3 separate regions of the Homo sapiens genome follow, and regions 2 and 3 are each linked to region 1. Evidence: promoter capture Hi-C in 16 types of primary human blood cells and fetal thymus (Javierre and others, 2016). All regions are on one chromosome and are shown on one strand. The core of a region is centred on a gene start or on the middle of the fragment in contact, and the rest is flanking DNA. Distances in the headings are between cores, read along the strand shown.

Evidence for each region. The method cuts DNA at HindIII sites, captures the fragments that hold promoters and counts their contacts. A CHiCAGO score of 5 or more calls a contact.
Region 2: a contact is called between a fragment that was not itself captured here and the fragment with the promoter of XPR1 in region 1, in 2 of 17 cell types (erythroblasts and neutrophils). The highest score is 6.9, in erythroblasts.
Region 3: a fragment that was not itself captured here is called in contact with the fragment with the promoter of XPR1 in region 1 in 1 of 17 cell types (erythroblasts); the score reaches 6.6 in erythroblasts.

Annotation. Positions count from the first base shown.
Region 1 is chr1:180,630,252-180,633,452 of GRCh38, reverse strand. XPR1 (xenotropic and polytropic retrovirus receptor 1) reads right to left here and starts at 1,431. Exons shown (of 15, transcript NM_004736.4): 1 at 1,183-1,431. The coding sequence starts at 1,251. RefSeq lists enhancers at 566-1,066, 1,067-1,567 and a silencer at 692-1,071. The HindIII fragment of the contact is 29,339 bases long and covers 1-3,201 here.
Region 2 is chr1:181,124,659-181,127,859 of GRCh38, reverse strand. No RefSeq gene overlaps it. Among named protein-coding and RNA genes, the nearest start is that of IER5, 38 kb to the right of the region's middle. The HindIII fragment of the contact is 2,394 bases long and covers 288-2,681 here.
Region 3 is chr1:180,887,650-180,890,850 of GRCh38, reverse strand. XPR1 (xenotropic and polytropic retrovirus receptor 1) reads right to left here. Exons shown (of 15, transcript NM_004736.4): 15 at 572-3,201. Among named protein-coding and RNA genes, the nearest start is that of LINC02816, 17 kb to the left of the region's middle. The HindIII fragment of the contact is 1,150 bases long and covers 1,143-2,292 here.

The DNA.
Region 1 (3,201 bases), core at 182-2,681:
CTTATATAAAAATTAAATGGAGAACTAAAATAGTTTAATTCATAAAATCTAGCTAAGTTATGTGTGTTCATATTGATTTTATATTCTTTGTTCCTGCACACAAAACAGATGTGAATTCCTGGAGGTTACAGATAAGTCTGTCTTTCTCTATCCAGGAGCTGAATTGCCAGCTACTGAGAATAACCTATTGCAATGCTTAAAGCCTCTTAGGTATCTTGTCTTCTGAACATATAAATGGGTTCATTATCTTTATTTTTCCCTTTATTAATGTAAGGTTCCTTATTATCTATTAAATACCTTCCAGCAGTGTTAGCACAGAAATTGGGAGGGAATGGGGAGCATGATTTCTGTAATACACAGGTAAGGTATATTGTTTACAATATACTAATTTTCTCCCCAGCTAGCAAAAACTTAGCAGAAAATAAAAAAATGTTAATAATTCTCTTCTCTCCTTTCTCTTCCCTCCATTCCAAAACAAGAGGCAAAAACAAAGATGTTATTACTCTGTAGACTTCATGCAATCAGTAAAAAGAGTCTTATTATCAAAGCAGAATAGTTGATTACAACGTGTTTACAAAAACTATAACCACTACATATGTGATACACACTTAAGTCAAGTTTCAACCCCGTTACAAAGCCTTTGTCAACAGTGGGCAAGTGGGAAAAAGCCGAAGGGCTCTTTGGAATGAAGGAAATCACTGGAGGGGCTTCTCTTGGAAGACAAGGATTCCTTGGTGAGAGGTGTAGAGAGAGAAACAAGACCTAACCTTGGCGAGGGGGCGCTCGCCCAGGGTGGGGACGAGAGGTCAGGGCGAGTGGGGAGAAGGGGATTAGCGCGGAACAGCCGCGACCCGGGGCTGCCCTCGCACCGTGACTCCCCCACCTGCAGCTCACCCTCCCACCGTTCCCCGGCCCCGGCCCCGGCCCGGGCAGCGCCTTTCCTCCCGGCCCTCCGCCTGCATATCCGTTACCCCGGCGGCAGCGGGGCTGCGGGGGAGGGGAAGGACAGCGGAGCCGGGAGGCGGCCGGCCGCGGCGGGGATGCCGCAGTGGCTCCCCGCGGCAGCGGGTCAAAGTCTGCCCGGGCACAGGGAGCCAGCTGAAGCGGAAGGCGGCGGTGGACGTCAGGACTGGCGAGATGGTGGCCCCTCCGAGTCCTCCCACACCCCAGCCGTGCCGGTACCTCATACTGGATGTATTGCTTCCTCCACTCGGGAGTGATGTGCGCGGAGAGGTGCTCGGCGAACTTCATCCTGCCGTTTCCCCCTCACTCCCACTCGGGTCCAGCAGCTACAGGCGGCGGCGGCAACAGCGACTCCGACTCCTCCCCACATGGGCCCCGGCGCGGCGCGGCGCTGCGCTTCTCTCCTCCTCCGCCGCCGCCGAGGTCTCTTCAGAGCAGCCCGCCCGCCATCTTCCTCCTCCTCTCCATAGCCCCGCCCCTCCCCGCCCTCTGGACGTCATCGCCATGGTAACCGCCTACACCGCCCTGACGAAGGGGGTGCTGTAAGGGGTGGGGCTTGGGTACGCTTCTTAAGACTCCGCCCCTTGTGGGCCGTACGTGCTGGAGGCACCTCCCTGGATCTCTTCAGTCTGGCTCCTGTTGGCCTACAGCTGCTTTCTACCGCCTGTCTGGGAAGCAGCAGTGTTGTTACTGCAGTTAATATTAATACTGTAGCAACAATAATCCACACAAGACGTTTATATTTACAAAGAACTGTGCAAATATTTTTCCATTTTGATATTTATGCTTCATAAAACCTTTAAGAAATGGATCAGCACTAATCCAAACTAAGAAGCTAAAACAGTTCAGGACTAAATGTATTTAAAGGAACAGTATTTTACACACTCTAGGTGCTCAATAAGTGCTTATTGAATTTAATTAAAGACATCAATGCCAAAAAGTGCATGCTGCTTCTGAATTTCAATGTAATTGTCTAGTCCAGGGGCTATCAGAAAAGCCAATAAAAACACCAAATGAGGGTACCGACCGCACTTGTAAACTGAGCTTCCTGGGGTTGGGGGTGAGGGTTGGGAGGGAAACCAACGTTGAGAGGAAAGAGAACCCCGTAGAAGTACAGCTCTAAGCCCACCCCAGTAAAACCGGAAACAGGCCCAGCACCCAGGCTGAAGTGTCCCTGGGGAACATGGGCAGAGATCACTCACAGAGCTCTGTACTACATTGAGTGTGGGAGTGATTGTCTTGGAAGTCCCAATTCAGGACAGAAACCCAGGTCCTACCCTGGGTGGAGGAGACCTAATAATAATTTATTGAGCACTCACTGTTCCTGTACCAAGTGCTATTCTAAACCTCTTACATGTACTTTGTCCCTTGATTCTAACATTTTTTTTTTTGGTCTCGCTTTGTTGCCCAGGCTGGAGTGCAGTCACACCATCATGGTTCACTGCAGCCTTACCTCACATAGGTTTGTGAGCCATCCTCCCACCTCAGCCCCCTGAGTAGCTGGGACTACAGGCACATGCCATTATGCCAAACTAATTTTTTTGTTTATTTTTGGGAGAGATGTGGGTCTTGCTATGTTGCCCAGGCTGGTCTTGAGCTCCTGAGCTAAAACAGTCCTCCCACCTAGGCCTCCTAAAGTGCTGGAATTACAGGCATGAGCCACCTTGCTCAGCCTAACCCTCACAATTTTGATGAGATTTCAAGATTTACTAGGGAACTGCTATGCCTGGAGCAGTGCTCTGAGATATCATTCTCTGCTGTTGTCTTTTTTTCTCCATGTACTTTTTTCCCCTTTCTCTTCCCCTTAATTCATGCCAATAGGGATTCTGCAATCATTTCCCCAGGAGAGGGATGACACAAGATGGAAAATAGGCATAGACTATGAGTCTTTCTGGCTTTTTCTGTATAAAAGCCTTAACCTCTGGTGAAAGGGTAATCAAGGTCAAAAAAATAAAGAAAGAAGAGTGAGGACTCCTCTCACCTCAGACCTCCGTCTGCTCACCATAAAGATTCCCCTCTGCTGGAGGTAAACCTTGCCAGGAGAAAGAGACAGGCAAAAAGGAATATGTGTGCTACCAGGAAGGAGGCGAGACCACAGAAAGGAAATGGCTGTATGTTGTGCCTGGGAAAAGGGAACCAGGGACAGCTACAAAAGAGATTCCTGCCTTTAGCCAGTCATGGACTAGAATGGGAAATTCTTAGTAGCAACCCTGGTGGACCATGGCACACTGCTCCCAG
Region 2 (3,201 bases), core at 235-2,734, 490 kb before region 1:
TTTGGGTGGCCAAGGCAGGCAAATCACATAAGTTCAGGAGTTTGAGACCAGCCTGGCCAACATGGTAAAACCCCGTCTCTACTAAAAATACAAAAAAATTAGCTGAGTGTGGTGGCACATGCCTGTAATCCCAGCTACGCAGGAGGCTAAGGAAGGAGAATTGCTTGATCCTGGGAGGCAGAGGTTGCAGTGAGCCAAGATTCCACCACTGCACTCCAGCCTAGGCGACAGAACAAGACTCCATCTCAAAAAAAAAAAAAAAAAAAAAAAAGCCACAGGCAGAAGCTTCCAATTCAGTTCTCCATTGCACATGCCTGTGTTGCTTTTTTAAACATCAAGCTCCCAAGTCCCCTCCTCTGGAGGTTCTGATGTACCCCAGCCTCTCCGGAGACACTTGTGCAGGAACAAGAGCTGTGAAGCAGGGCAGACTCGAGTTCCCAGTACCAGTCACGTGACATGGGAAAAGCTACTTCCAACCCTTGGAGCCTCAGTTTCCTACTATTAAAAAAAAAAATGGAGATAATAATGTTTGCTTTACCCATGTGTCATGAGGAGTCTAGGCTGCTTGGCACAGTGCCAGGTGCTCCATAGGTGCTCTGCTGACGTCAGCTCCCCTTTCCTGCCCTTCAGAAACCTGATGCTGCAGCATCCACACTTCAGAGAGCTAAAAAGAAAGGGGCATAGCCCATGGATACTACTCCAGTTAAGCTGACCTTTGGTTCTGGCCTTAATCTAAGTCCGTGCACCCTGCCCCAGGGTCAGGCAGCTCCCACAGGGCTGCAGGACAACAACAAGCCGGCGTAGGCTGGGGGATTTCCAGGGGCGGGACCTCTGCTTTCAGAACTTCCACGGAAAGGCCTCAAAACTGACCAGCTCCACCTGCAAAAGGTCACTATCCAGGCTGGCTGAGAGTCTCTGGAAACCTATCAGTCCATCAAACTGTTCCCCAGTCTTCCTTCCATCATCTGCCAGAGCCCGTATTTCCAGAGCCACCTCTACCAGCTGCCCCTCTGGATGCAACAGGCCCGCCCCCAGGTTCAAGCCCTCCTGCCTGGCCCAGCCGCCATGAGCCCCTCAGGCCATTCTCTCCTGCCAGCCCTAGGCATTTCCCAACCCTCACCTAAAACCCATGTCCCAATTTAAAAGGCAATGAGTGGCTTCCAAATACACCCTTACCTGTTTACTCAGAGTTGACTTTGAGTTACCTGGAAGATGCGCCCACTCCCAATAGCCTGGGTGACAATCTTTCCTTTCCACCTTTTTAACAGAGGACAAGTGAGTTCCAGGAAATGCCTGGAGTGCCTAGCTACCTCTCTGGAGTACACTCAAACCCACACTCATTCTCGCTAAGCAACTTGGCGGAGGCCCTGTTTCACAGGCACCATGCTGGGCACATCTGCCTTCCTCAGCTCCCCTTCTTGAGAAACTGGGAGGTAGGTGCCGGTATCTTTATTTTATACATGAGGGGACTGAAGCATTAGGCCATCTGTATAAGCTCCCACATCTGATGAGTGGTGAACTCAGGATTTAATCCCAGGACTTCTGGGTCCCAGACAAGAGCATTTTCTACTCCACTGTGTCTGCCTCTAAAATCTACCTCAGGCCAGGCGTGGTGGCTCATGCCTGTAATCCCAGCACTTTGGGAAGCCAAGGCAGGTGGATTACCAGCGATCAGGAGTTCAAGACCAGCCTGACCAACATGGCAAAACCCTGTCTTTACTAAAAATACAAAAATTAGGCCGCACAGTGGCTCACGCCTGTAATCCCAGCACTTTGGGAGGCCAAGGCAGGCGGATCACAAGGTCATGAGATCGAGACCATCCTGGCTAACATGGTGAAACCCCATCTTTACTAAAAAAAAAAAAAAATACAAAAAATTAGCCGGGCATGGTGGCAGGTGCCTGTAGTCCCAGCTACTCAGGAGGCTGAGGCAGGAGAATGGCATGAACCTAGGAGGCGGAGCTTGCAGTGAGCAGAGATCGCGCCACTGCACTCCAGCCTGGGCGACAGAGTGAGACTCCGTCTCAAAAAAAAAAAAAATACAAAAATTAGCCAGTGTGGTGGCGCCGCCTGTAATCCCAGCTACTCAGGAGGCTGAGAAAGGAGAATGGCTTGAACCCAGGAGGCAGAGGTTGCAGTGAGCAGAGATCGCGCCACTGTACTCCAGCTTGAGCAATAGAGTGAGACTCCATCTCAAAAAAATAAAATAAAATAAATCTACCTCAAATCTATTTCTCACCCTCTTTGTTGCCCCCATCCAAGGGGGCACCTTCCAAGCCACCACAGCCGAGGCCTGGGTGACTATAATGGCCTCCCAACTGGTCTCCCTGTTCTCACTCTTGGTCACAACCATCCATTTTCCACAACAGCCAGGATGGTCCTTCTCATGAAGTGATCATGTTGCTCCCCTGCTGCACAAAAAATAAAATCAAACTCCTCCCCATGGCATATAAGGCCTGTGTGATCTGTCCCTTCCCCCTCCCCGCTGTCCCTGATACCCCTTCCATTCTTGAAGTCTTTTCCTACTCTGGGATCTTGGCACTTGATGTTTCTTCTCCTTTCCTCTTGTTGCTCCGTATATTACTTTATTTTATTTTCTTCATAGCATTTATAACTATCTGAACCTTTTAAATTTATTTACATCTTGGGTGTTTGTCTGTCTCCATTGACCAATGTAAGCTTCACAAGACAATTTTATCATGCTTTCCATGGCACCCTTGTGCCTGGAACAGCACCTGGCCAATAGTAAGTGCTCAATAATTATCCACTGGATGAATGAATGAGGAGGTCTCCCTAAGGAGACCTCAGAGATGATGGGGCTGAAAGACATCAGAGGAGAAGAAAGCTGGGGCAGTTTCACCTGCAATATGTTCAACAGAAATGGCCCCACTGAGCCTCACAGTCAGCCATGCGACAGTGCACCTCGTGTCTGGGACAGAAGAAAGATGGTCAATGTGTGCCCCAAAAGAGGGAACTATTTGGAAACTGGGAGGGTAAAGAAATAATAAAAATGTTGGGTTTTGTAGTGGTGGCTGTTATTTTTTAAGCCCACTCAAGGGGGGTTTTCTGCAGTGGCTCAACATAAGCAAACACTAGAACTAAAAAAAAAAAAAAAAAAAAGAGGAATTAGAAAACTGGAAAGAACTAAATGCTGCAGCTAAAATGGAATAGGTTCCCCAGAGTCTGATCTCATGTGTGTGG
Region 3 (3,201 bases), core at 468-2,967, 260 kb before region 1:
TCTTTGACTTTGGCCTGGAAACTCCATATTATCATATTCTGATTTAGCCTACACAGAAATATAGTAATAACAGAGTTTGTGGCACCAAAGTAAGATGAAAGGCTTTGATGCTTTAGTCAATAAATTATTTTTCCCTTTGCATTGTGGGTATATTCATCTTAGGGTCAGTTAATTTTGTAATCTTTCCTAGATATATATAAGGAATAATAATTAGTCCAGGAATTCTGCAGAAAAGTCCTATGTTCCCTCACAGGGCATGGGTATGCAGTGATAGCAGTGTCCACCTCTCCAAAATGTAATTGGACACATCATTTCACCTCATATTTGTAATATTTGAGATTCTTTGTGCGAGTAAAAGAAAGATTTGTTACAACAATCCCATTGCTTTAGAGTCACACCTCACATATTACCTGAAGATAAAAGCCATTTAAACTTCTTTTAACTTAGTAGGATAGTTTAAAAATTTCACCACTGTAGTCTGTTTGCCCTAACCCCATATGAAAATTAGTCCTAAGGGGAACTATGTTCAGGAATTCAAGAAACCAAGAGAGAAAAACAGTCACACAAACCATTCACCAGTGACAAAGGAGTCAGCAAACTGTTGGAAAACAGAGAGAAATTGTAATAATGAAAAAAGGACAGAGTTTAGTGACCAATCACTTATTTTCTTTAAAAACACATAACCACATTAACTTTTTGCTTTATACAACCATCTAGAAACTATAAAACAGTACCACATTGTGCATTTAACCTACTTATCAAGAAGGGAACTTCATAAGTCATAAGAATTCTACCCATATAGGAAGGAAAAAGGAGACAGCTAATAGCATAGTCACAGATACAACATGAGTCCAAGCAAGCATCAATTCTTCGACATCACCTTTTCCATTTACCAGAGTGGAGACTGAGAAAGAGAGTGAGGGAGAAAAAAGAGGGAAGGAAGCACCCACAGAGGACTAATCACAATCCATAGTTACTTTTGACAACTATAGCTCAGGGTTTCATAGAATAGTATCATTTGACCAACACAGTGTGGTGGAGGGAGAGGGGTGAAGGAAACACAAATAGAAGGAGAGAGTTTGAACAGAAAAATACAATTTTCCCCCTATTCCCCTCCTAAATACTCTTCATTGATACAAGCTTCTGTGCTAATCCAGAAAATGGCAAGAAATTAATCTTCACAACGTGATTAAGAGTTCTGTTCTTTTTGTAATTGAAATGTGAGTGGCTCACAATTTTACAATTCAAAATAACGTCATGAACAATGACCCTTTAGGGATTTTCCACAATCTTTCCCTCCAATTCCCACCATGCTGGTGTTGCTACAGGGCAATCAGGGAAGTGCAGGTAGGGACTTCAGAGATAATGATCAAGGGATAGTGAGATGGAAGCCTGGCTCTTTCTTAGAAGTCCACAACTTTCTAGAAGTACTGCAGTCTTTCCCTCTGATTTGTGGTGGCACAGAGGAAAGGGCATAGGAAGAACTAAGGTAATATGGTGGAAGTTTAGTCAAGTAACTGGTTTGAAGGTATACGAGACTGTGTACTTAGTAGATATACTGAATCCAAGGCAAACAATAGGTTATTTGATTGTCCTCCTTAGGTTGATGGCACCATACAAAAAACTGAGGGTGGCTTTGATTTGACGATAAAATAAACCAAAGGTTTGCTACAAGGAAACATACTTCAGTTGCAAAGTTGTATAATGATTCTCCTCACTTTAAGGGAAACTCTCATCTTGTTCTCACTTCCTCTTCCACCATAAATAAGCAAACATATTCTGGAAGGCTGTTTTCTAGGGGCAACTCAGTATCAGTTTTGATAATTCATACAAGAAAGGCATCATGAGCCATGCCAATCAACAGGCTCCTCTCTGTTCTCAGGCAAACTTCCTGTATGGACTACCTTAGGCTCTTCCAAACCTAATGAGATGTTTTTACTTTTTCATATTTGGAGAGTATGCTGGTTAGATCATTGGTTTGTAACACCAACCAGTGCAAATTTCTCATGCTATCATATAATCAACTCTGTCCCACATTACCATGTGCTCTAACATTGTATAGACTTAAAATACAATGCAGAAAGTTGAGAGTTTGTAGGATTTACTATCAAGACTGACTTCTGAAATGCAGAAACGTATGTGTTTGCATTTAGAAAACCTTTAACACTCCTTGTCTTAGCTAATGATCACAAGCAAGAAAAATTTAGATCACTCAGAAAAAGAATATGAACAAAGCTGATAAATTGGATTTATTCTTCTTTACCTAACTTTTGCAGAAGTTCTACCAAAGCTTCAATTGTCTTCACCTGGTCACTAGAGACCGTATCTGTAATGACACTGAATTCCTATTAGATTTGAGAAAAGTGTGGTGATTTTGTAGTTGAGAGAGCTACAAATTCAACTTTCTTTTTTTCTCTCAGAAGCTATCTCAATTTTAAAAACTCAAATGTTATACAGTAAGAGGTACTTGTTTTTTGAGAGGAAAATTTCATGTAAACCATTAAAAGAAAACAATAATGACCTGAAATCTGCTTACCAGATTTGTATCCCACATTTTAAAACAATGCCACAGATAGGGTTATTTTCTTAATTATTTTCCTTAGAATAAGAAATTTTTGTGGTCACTGCTTAGAAAACTGCATTTGGGAATAAATAATTATTTCCTGAATAATGCAAAGTAATGGGGAAAAGATGATAGGAAAATAAAGGCAGGTCTTTCCCAGCAATTTAATAACCACTAAGCGGACAGATGGAGGCATCACCTTCGCGTCATCAGGCTCACGTACTTTCCTAACTGCCTTGCTGCGGCTTACTGCCAACGTCCAACATCTTCTTGCTCTTCTCTGCTATCTCCAAAGTTATTTCACTTATCTTCAATGAATGTCTGTTAATCTGATACCTGCATGACTCAATACTACTTTACTTTTTTCTGTTCTTACCTTGCCGTAGTTCACCTATCCAGAAATGGATGATCTGCTTTCTCTAGTTACTGTGAATGTACTTTGGTCAAAGCATGGTGGAAAGATAATATACATCAACACGTTACTTCTGGTAAAGAGCTCAGTTAAAGTCACAGAACTCTCATGTTTAGAATATCAGGAAGTCAGGGATCCTAGGGGCTGGGGCCCATTTTCCTTCTTTAAACGGTTTTTATAAGTTACTACTGAGGTGAATGGTGTTCTCCCACACCTTTGCTTCTGA